Regions from separate parts of the Homo sapiens genome. Here all the other regions are linked to region 2. The links are contacts of gene promoters, found by promoter capture Hi-C in blood cells and fetal thymus (Javierre and others, 2016). All regions are on one chromosome and are shown on one strand. Each heading gives the region's core, a stretch centred on a gene start or on the middle of the fragment in contact. The rest is flanking DNA. Distances are from core to core; before and after follow the strand shown. Region 1 overlaps PEX7 (peroxisomal biogenesis factor 7). Region 2 holds the start of MAP3K5-AS1 (MAP3K5 antisense RNA 1). Region 3 overlaps MAP3K5 (mitogen-activated protein kinase kinase kinase 5).

Evidence for each region. The method cuts DNA at HindIII sites, captures the fragments that hold promoters and counts their contacts. A CHiCAGO score of 5 or more calls a contact.
Region 1: a fragment that was not itself captured here is called in contact with the fragment with the promoter of MAP3K5-AS1 in region 2 in 4 of 17 cell types (non-activated CD4 T cells, naive CD4 T cells, activated CD4 T cells and 1 more); the score reaches 5.9 in non-activated CD4 T cells.
Region 3: a fragment that was not itself captured here is called in contact with the fragment with the promoter of MAP3K5-AS1 in region 2 in 8 of 17 cell types (total CD8 T cells, naive CD4 T cells, naive CD8 T cells and 5 more); the score reaches 7.0 in total CD8 T cells.

What each region holds. Positions count from the first base shown.
Region 1 is chr6:136,840,964-136,843,663 of GRCh38, forward strand. All of the region lies in intron 3 of PEX7 (peroxisomal biogenesis factor 7), which reads left to right. Among named protein-coding and RNA genes, the nearest start is that of PEX7, 20 kb to the left of the region's middle. The HindIII fragment of the contact is 3,230 bases long and covers 1-2,700 here.
Region 2 is chr6:136,627,740-136,630,439 of GRCh38, forward strand. MAP3K5-AS1 (MAP3K5 antisense RNA 1) reads left to right here and starts at 1,375. Exons shown (of 3, transcript NR_125858.1): 1 at 1,375-1,537. The region is part of intron 14 of MAP3K5 (mitogen-activated protein kinase kinase kinase 5); the gene reads right to left. It also overlaps the pseudogene RNA5SP219. The HindIII fragment of the contact is 14,560 bases long and covers 1-2,700 here.
Region 3 is chr6:136,774,005-136,776,704 of GRCh38, forward strand. The region is part of intron 1 of MAP3K5 (mitogen-activated protein kinase kinase kinase 5); the gene reads right to left. Among named protein-coding and RNA genes, the nearest start is that of MAP3K5-AS2, 8.7 kb to the right of the region's middle. The HindIII fragment of the contact is 173 bases long and covers 1,208-1,380 here.

The sequences.
Region 1 (2,700 bases), core at 190-2,689, 210 kb after region 2:
CTTTTTCTTTGTAGTTTTTAAAAAAATTGCAACTTGAAATTATACATTTATTTATAGCATGTTTGCTGCTGCTAAAATATAAGATCCATGGGGGCTGGTCTTATCTAAAATTGTAACCTCCTTTCCCCCCGTGCCTAGTACATAGTAGGTGCTCAATAAATATTTGTTGAATAGATGAGTGAATTGATTGAAGTTGGGATAATGGAATTCATTCTTCCCTTTTCAGCTGTTTCTCAAACATCTCTCTGGCTGTGAACTTTTTTCAGAGCTTGAGGTTAATGCCCAAACCCTGTCTTGCTGTCACCTCAAACTCAGTATATATAAAATTACATTATTTTCCTTCCTCCAGTCTTTCACTTTTGTTAATGCTGCCATCACTGACAGTCCTCAGGCACAAAACCTTGGTGTTATCTTGCAGTGTTCACTACCCCCGATCCCTAGGGTGCTGTATATTCCCATTTATGTGTTTGAGGAAGTTTTCTGGTTACTGTTTCACCTCTGCTTTTTGCCTATTGACATTTTAGCCAGCCCTCAGGGCCCTGCCTCAGTCTTTCTCTTCTGAGCACGAAGCTGAATTTCCATCCAAGCACCCCTTTTGTACTTATGTTTATAGTTTGTTTTGTTTTGTTTTTGAGACAAGGTCTTTCTCTGCTACCCAGGCTGGAATGCAGTGGCGTGATCACTGCTCACTGCTGTCTTGACCTTGACCTTGTGGGCTCAAGCCATCCTCCCACCCCAGCCTCCTGGGTAGCTGGGACTACTGTTATAGGTCACCACACCTGGCTAATTTTTAAAATTTTTTATAGAGACGGGGGTCTCGCCATATTTTCCAGGCTGGTCTCGAACTCGTGGCCTCAAGCGGTCCTCCTGCCTCGGCCTCCCAAAGTGCTGGGATTACAGGCATGAGCCACCGTGCCTGGTGTAATTACTCTTTTTTTAAATTAAAAAAAAAAACCCACACAGTCTCCTGATCTGTTAGTTCCTTTCCCATGTCCTAATATTTTAAACATAGTATTGAGTTGCCTTTCTTTTCTTTTTCTTTTTTTTTTTTTTGAGACAGGTTCTCACTCTGTCACCCAGCTTAAAGTGCAGTGGCACAATCTTGGCTCACTACAACCTCCACCTCCTGGGAGCGATTCTCCTGCCTCAGCCTCCTGAGTAGCTGAGACTGCAGGTGCCTGCCATCACACCTGGCTAAATTTTATATGTTTAGTAGAGACGGGGTTTCACCATGTTGGCCAGGCTGGTCTTGAACTCCTGGCCTCAAGTGACCTGCCCGCCTTGGCCTCCCAAAGTGCTGGGATTACAGGCGTGAGCCACCACACTCAGCCTATTTCCTTCTTTATGATCCCATTTTTAACTTCACCACCATGTGTGTCCTATCTTTAGCTCTGTCATAGAGACCTAATGCTTGCTACTTGGTTGTGCAACAGAAGACAGCTGACAGCAACAATGCCATCAGCATGGTTTTCTTACCTTCTATCTTTGATGTTGATTCAGGCTGGATTCTCTTGAGCCGGTGGAGGCTCCTGCAGTTTTAGAAGGTGAGTAGTCATAAGGTGTCACCTGCTGCATCACACTGGAAATGTGTGGAGGCAGTGGAGTCTGAGCTGATGATGAGTATTTACTTAGTAGTTCTCTGTACCTACCTAGCAGTGATTCAGGTTGTAAAGAAAAATTTAATTGGTTAAATTATTTTAACCAATGTTTGAGTGCCTATTTTACTGTGATGAACATAGATGTACAAGATGTTTTGCTCATTAGGAGTCTCCAAAATCTAGCAGGTATGTGAGTTATGTAACATTCTTTTTAGTAAATAAAATATGGTAAATGCTGAGTTAGAAGTAGGTGTGAGCTGCTGTTGAAGGCAGCATATGACTCATTGAAGGACTTATCAGGGGAGGCTTATTTCGTAAGGGATGTAATGGGGCACGTCTTGATGGATAAATGGAAATTCACAAGTGGAGAGGGGCTTTAAGATCTGTGTATAGGTAATTCATGAAAACACAGTGGAATCAATCTAGGCCCAAATGTAGCTCCAGTAAAGGGTGAAACCAGCAGGGGTAGAGCTTTAGTTCCTTGATATCATGGCTTAAGGTAGCCAAGAAGTTCTGATTCAACAGTGCCCTCAAGTAGCATGCTGTACAGATAGCCTCACATTGCGATTAAAAGTGGACTCTGCAATTAGGCTGCCCACGTTCAGATTTCATATCTGCACCTTACTAGCTTTGGGACTCTGGACAAGTTACTTAACCTCTCTGGGCCTTGATATAGTATCTACTTCATATAAATGAAGATTAAATGAAATAAAATACATAAAGTGCTTATGAACAGGATCTGACACTCAGAGTGTTCAATAAAGGTTTGCTATTTTTATTTTTGACTGTTTACATCAGCCTAGAGCAGGGGTTGGCAAACTACGTCATGTGGACCAGGACCAAATCTGGCCTGCAGTTAGATTTACAAATAAAGTTTTTTTGGAATCAAGCCATGCGCATTCATTCGGTATTGACTATGGCTGCTTGGTGTGTGCTATAAGAGCTGGGTTTAGTAGTTGTGACAGTGACCAAATAGCCTGTAAAATCTAAAGTATTTACCATATGGCCCTTTATAGAAGAAATGTACCTTTTTTGAAGAAACTTACCATTTACTATATGGTCCTTTGTAGGCGAAATTTAGAGGATAAAATCAAACTCTTTA
Region 2 (2,700 bases), core at 125-2,624:
TTGGATTTCTCAGCCTCTGGAACTGTGAGCAAAGCATTTCTATTGGGTATAAATTACCCAGCCTAAGGCATTTTGTTATAGCGGCCTGGATGGACCAAGACAATGCCCTTCAAGATCTTACGGCTACCTCTGTCATCCTCGTCTGGACACTTGAGCTCTTCGAGACTTGGGACTTCATCCTTAATTACTCTATCCCCAGTTTTAGCATGTAGCTTGTAGTAGATGCTCAGTAATTATTTGCTTAACTAATTAATCAAGTTATAGAAAAATGTGATGAGAACTTTTTTAGAAAAGAACTAGATCCCAAAACAAAACATTTAGAGTCATTATTGGTTTATTCTTGGGTGAAAGCATTTTTCCAATAGATATATTTAAATCTTTTTTTTTTTTTAAAGAGTGTTTTGCTCTGTCGCCTAGGCCGGAGTGCAGTGGTGCCATCATAGCTCATTGCAGCCTTGAACTCCTAGGTTCAAGCAATCCTCCCACTTCAGCCTCCTCAACAGCTGGGACTTCAGGTGTACAGCACTATGTCCAGCTAATTTTTTCTATTTTTTGTAGAGATGGGGTCTTGCTATGTTGCCCAGGCTGGCCTTGAACTCCTGGCCTCAACTGATCCTGCTGCCTCGGCCTCCCAACCACTGGGAGTACAGGTGGGAGCCATCATACTCAGCAGTTTTTTTTTTTAAAGAGATGGAGTCCTGCTATGTTACCCAGGCTGGACTCAAAGTCCTGGGCTCAAGTGATCCTCCCAAATAGCTGGGACTCAGGTGCACACCACCAGGTCCAGCTCTACAACAGGTATGCTTATATAGAAGAGTGAAGAATACATAAACCTTGATGAGGCTGCTAAAGTTTTAATTTCCCCTAGGAATCTAAGGCATCAGAAGACTATTTTTTAAAAGATTACGTATTAGATACAGATTTAAAAGATTATGTATTAGATATAGAAGATTAGATATAGAAGCTGACTCCTGTTAAACAAAATGGTGATAGTAAAATGAAAAGGAATTGTAAAAAGAGCAGTGTTATTTAAGTAAAACCATCTCTGTGGGTAATTGCTGCTTTGTTTTTCTATCTCCCCTTTCTATTCTTACGAGATAAAGATAGAAATTGAAATGGCAGTTTTGAAAGAAAGCTGAAAAGAAACAAGAGACTGGTTCAGCCTAGAAGGACAGAGAATCATCTATGTAATGTCCAGGAATAGTAGAAGAGAGGGTTTTAAAAAATAAAAGGTAACATTACATTGCTTATATATTTTGCATTCTATTTCTATGGTAATAGGTTAGCAAATCAGGTTGTTGCTAAGGGAAACAAGAATTTCATTCTGAGGCAATCATGAGAATTTTTCTAGAATCATCTCTTTATTGCTGTCTGCTCAGAACAATCAAAACTGGTAGCGGGAAGAGAATCAGTGTAGGAAGGCAACATTGACAAGGCCAAACAACGAAGTGGTGACTCACTGAGTCCTTGCACTCTCGAAGGAAACAACCACCTTAGAAAAAACCATGCACTTTCGGCGGGGGCTTAATCACATTAGGTGAGTAATCACCTCAAAGACCCAAATGGCAGCTCTGTTAATGTTCAGTCTGTATGGCCTTCTTTATATGTAAATGCCAAAACATTAATAACTACTAATAACATTAATAGAATGCCAAAAACACTGCAGGTACAAATATCTAGTGTGATGGATCTCTCCTCCCTTAGATCTTTACTCACATCTCACCTTTTTTTTTGAGAAGGAGTCACGCTCTGTCGCCCAGGCTGGAGTGCAGTGGCACAATCTCAGCTCGCTGCAAGCTCCGCCTCCCAGGTTCACGCCATTCTCCTGCCTCAGCCTCCCGAGCAGCTGGGACTACAGGTGCCCGCCACCACACCCAGCTAATTTTTTGTATTTTTAGTAGAGATGGGCTTTCACCTTGTTAGCCAGGATGGTCTCAATCTCCTGACCTCATGATCCACCCGCCTTGGTCTCCCAAAGTGCTGAGATTACAGGTGTGAGCCATGGCGCCCGGCCATATCTCACCTTCATTTATTTATTTATTTATTTATTTATTTATTTATTTATTTATTTAGAGTCTCACTCTGTCGCCCAGGCTGGAGTGCCTAGGTTCAAGCGATTCTCCTGCTTTAGCCTCCCGAGTAGCTGGGATTACAGGCGCTTGCCACCATGCCCGGCTAATTTTTGTATTTTCAGTAGAGATGGGGTTTCGCCATTTTAGCCAGGTTGGTCTCAAACTCCTGACCTCAAACAATCCAACTCCTCTGCCTCCCAAAGTGCTGGGATTACAGGCATGAGCCACCACACCCGGCCTAAATCTTACCTTCTTAATGAGCTTCCCAGGCCTTCCTATCTAAAATTGCACGTCCCTGCTACACTGTAACTTCCTAAACCCTTCCCTGGTTTATTATTCTCCTTAACCCTGATCACCATCTAACATACTATAGATGGTATTTTACTTATTTGTGTTTATTGTCCGTCTCTCATTAGAAAGTAACCTGAGTCTACAGCTATACCACCCTGAATGCGTCCAATCTCTTCTGATCTCGGAAGCTAAGCAGAGTTGGGCCCGATTAAGACTTAGATGAGAGCATGTAAGCTCTCAGTGATAGCAGGAATTTCTCTCCATTTTGTTCTCTGCCATCTCTCCAGCACATGGAATGGTGCCTACCATTCAATAGCTGTCCAAAAATATGTGAGTG
Region 3 (2,700 bases), core at 44-2,543, 150 kb after region 2:
TCTCTTTATCCTACCCCTTCCTTATGGAGAGACTCATTTTTTCCATGATTTATTATAAAATGCCTGGCACATGTTAAGTGCTCAATAAATGTTAGCTTTCATCATTATCCTTCAAAACCCAGTTCAAATGTCACCTCCTGTCCAATGTCTTAGCCAACCTCCTCCACACTTCCTTCTCCTCCTGAAGAATCCTCCATGATTTGTGCTCTCAAAGAACCTTACATAAACCTCTAGTATAACAATTAGCACCAGCCTAGGCAACATGGCAAAACCCCATCTCTACAAAAAAAGAATTAAAAAATTAGCCAGCATGGTGGCACACACCTGTGATCCCAGCTACTCAGAAGGCTGAAGTGGGAGGATCGCCTGAGCCCAAGGAGGTTACGGCTGCAGTGAGCTGTGATCGCACCACTGCACTCCAGCCTGGGTGACAGAGTGACTCAGTCTCAAATTTTTTAAAAAACAACAACAACAAACAATTAGCACAATATATATAATACGTTCATAGGCTGGTCTCCCTTACCAGACTGTGAGCCGCTCCAGGAAAGGGATGACATCATTGAATTGTATTCTACAAACATCATTAAGTGTCATCTACAGGTCACACACTGATACAGAAGACCTGGGGCATGTCAAGAACCATAAAATGTGATCTTTGTCATTAACTCACACTTAAGCAGAAAAAGCAGACATCAAAACCAATAACTAAAACACCACTGGGGGGAAAGTGTGATATTCATTCAATCAATCAATCTGTATCAAGTGCCAAGCACTCCATTAGGTACTAGAGGTGCAGGGTTAACAAGACAGAAAAAGAGACATGGAACTATATTCTAATGATTCTTTAAAAAACCAGAAACTGCTCCTTGTTTGTCAGATGTTTCTAACAAAAGGTTTTTCATTATTGTGTAAATTGGACTTGACTTTTTCAGTTGTTCCTTCTTAGTCATATCACGTATGATGCAAGACCTATGGAGCAACAGCTTTCTTTATATCTCCCAAAGAATCAAGCATGATTTGAATACTGAATCCTTAAAGCAAATCAAAATTTATTTAACAGCCTTCAGAGGTCATTTCAAGAGGGAATAGATAGGGCTGCTAACAGAAATATGAATTAAAAAAAAATTCAGATCTTAGAGAATAAAAATAGAAGGATAAATAGTTCCAAGATTATTCATACCTTAAAAGAAAAAGAATGCTAAGGTCAAGCTTATAAGCAACTAGGCAATGTGCTGGATTCAGGAAGAAATTTACCTGGTGACCACATATTAGGTATAGATTATGGCTCAAAAGTTGGGTAATACTTTTTGCTGTGGCTAAATGGGACAATGACAAGTCTTGAAAAAATAATTCTCATAGACTAAATATTAAGTCATTAGAAGCTTGTAACCTAGTCCAGGTCTCAAATTAGGCTTTCGGCACGTAGACCAGGTAACTGAAAACTGAAAGCAGATGAGAGTCTCGAATTCTCCTGTCATAGCCTTTTTCTTCTTCTATGCTCTCAGAAAACCTCCTCATATTAAATGTGGCATATCCTCTGGCACAGAACTCTTTGGGTAACATGCACCTAACTCCCCTGATAATAAACCATGGAGAATAACCCAAAGAACATACAGTGTGAAAACAGAAAAATCATGATTGCTTCATACATCCACTCCTGCAAACTTAGTCCAATGTGTCTAATGATGTTTTTAGAGGAACATACAAGCCTATTAAATAGTTGTGGCCTGGGAAAACTAAGGCATGGCAATATACAAATACCACAGTGCAATTTTGCTTGAAAATTCTCAAGCGATGTCACAACACGGTGGCAACAGCTTTTGTGTGTACAATGCATTCCCTTCTGGGATCACTTGAAGATGAGATCTGGCCCTTCTTGGGCTACTTCAAATTAGAAGTTAACTTGCCTGCAAACAGGTAATGATAAGAAGATCCAATCCTGAATAATCAAGAGATTATCCATCAAGAAGAGTGTTCATTATTTAACATGATAAAAACCTATTTCGTTAATAAAACCTACACTAAGTGGAGAGTCCTGAGTTCTATGAAGCTTGGAAATTGTGAGGCTGTACTTTCTCATTACTTATGTATATTTCACCCAGCAGTGAAAATGTCTCTTCAGGTAAACCAAGGAGATACATCAATATCTTAATTTTAGTTCCAAGTGTATACACGATTCGTCTAAAGTAGAAGAGTGTCACTTGTATGCTATTATGGTTTTGGGGTTGTCTTTTATTTTTTATTTATTTATTTATTTTTGAGACAGGACATTGCTGTCACCCAGGCTGGAGTGCAGTGGCGCAATTATGGCTCACTGCAGCCTCTGCCTCTCTGGCTCAAAGTGATCCTCCCACCTCAGCCTCCTGAGTAGCTGGGACTACAGGTGTGTACCACCACAACCAGCAAATTTTTATATTTTTTGTAAAGAAGAGGTCTCACCACGTTGCCCATTCTAGTCTTGAACTCTTGTGCTCAAGCGATCCACCAGCTTCTGCCTCCCAAAGTGCTGGGATTATAGGCATGAGCCACTGCACCTGGCTGCTATTAAGGTTTAATCTTCTTAAAGATTTCACAAATGGGCACCAAATGAGCCACAGGTGAGGATGTTATAAATTTAACCGTAATACTCCTGGAAGGTTACTTAAGCTCAAACCTCCAACACCGACAAATTCTTTAGCTTGGAGTTGTCTCCCTTTTGCC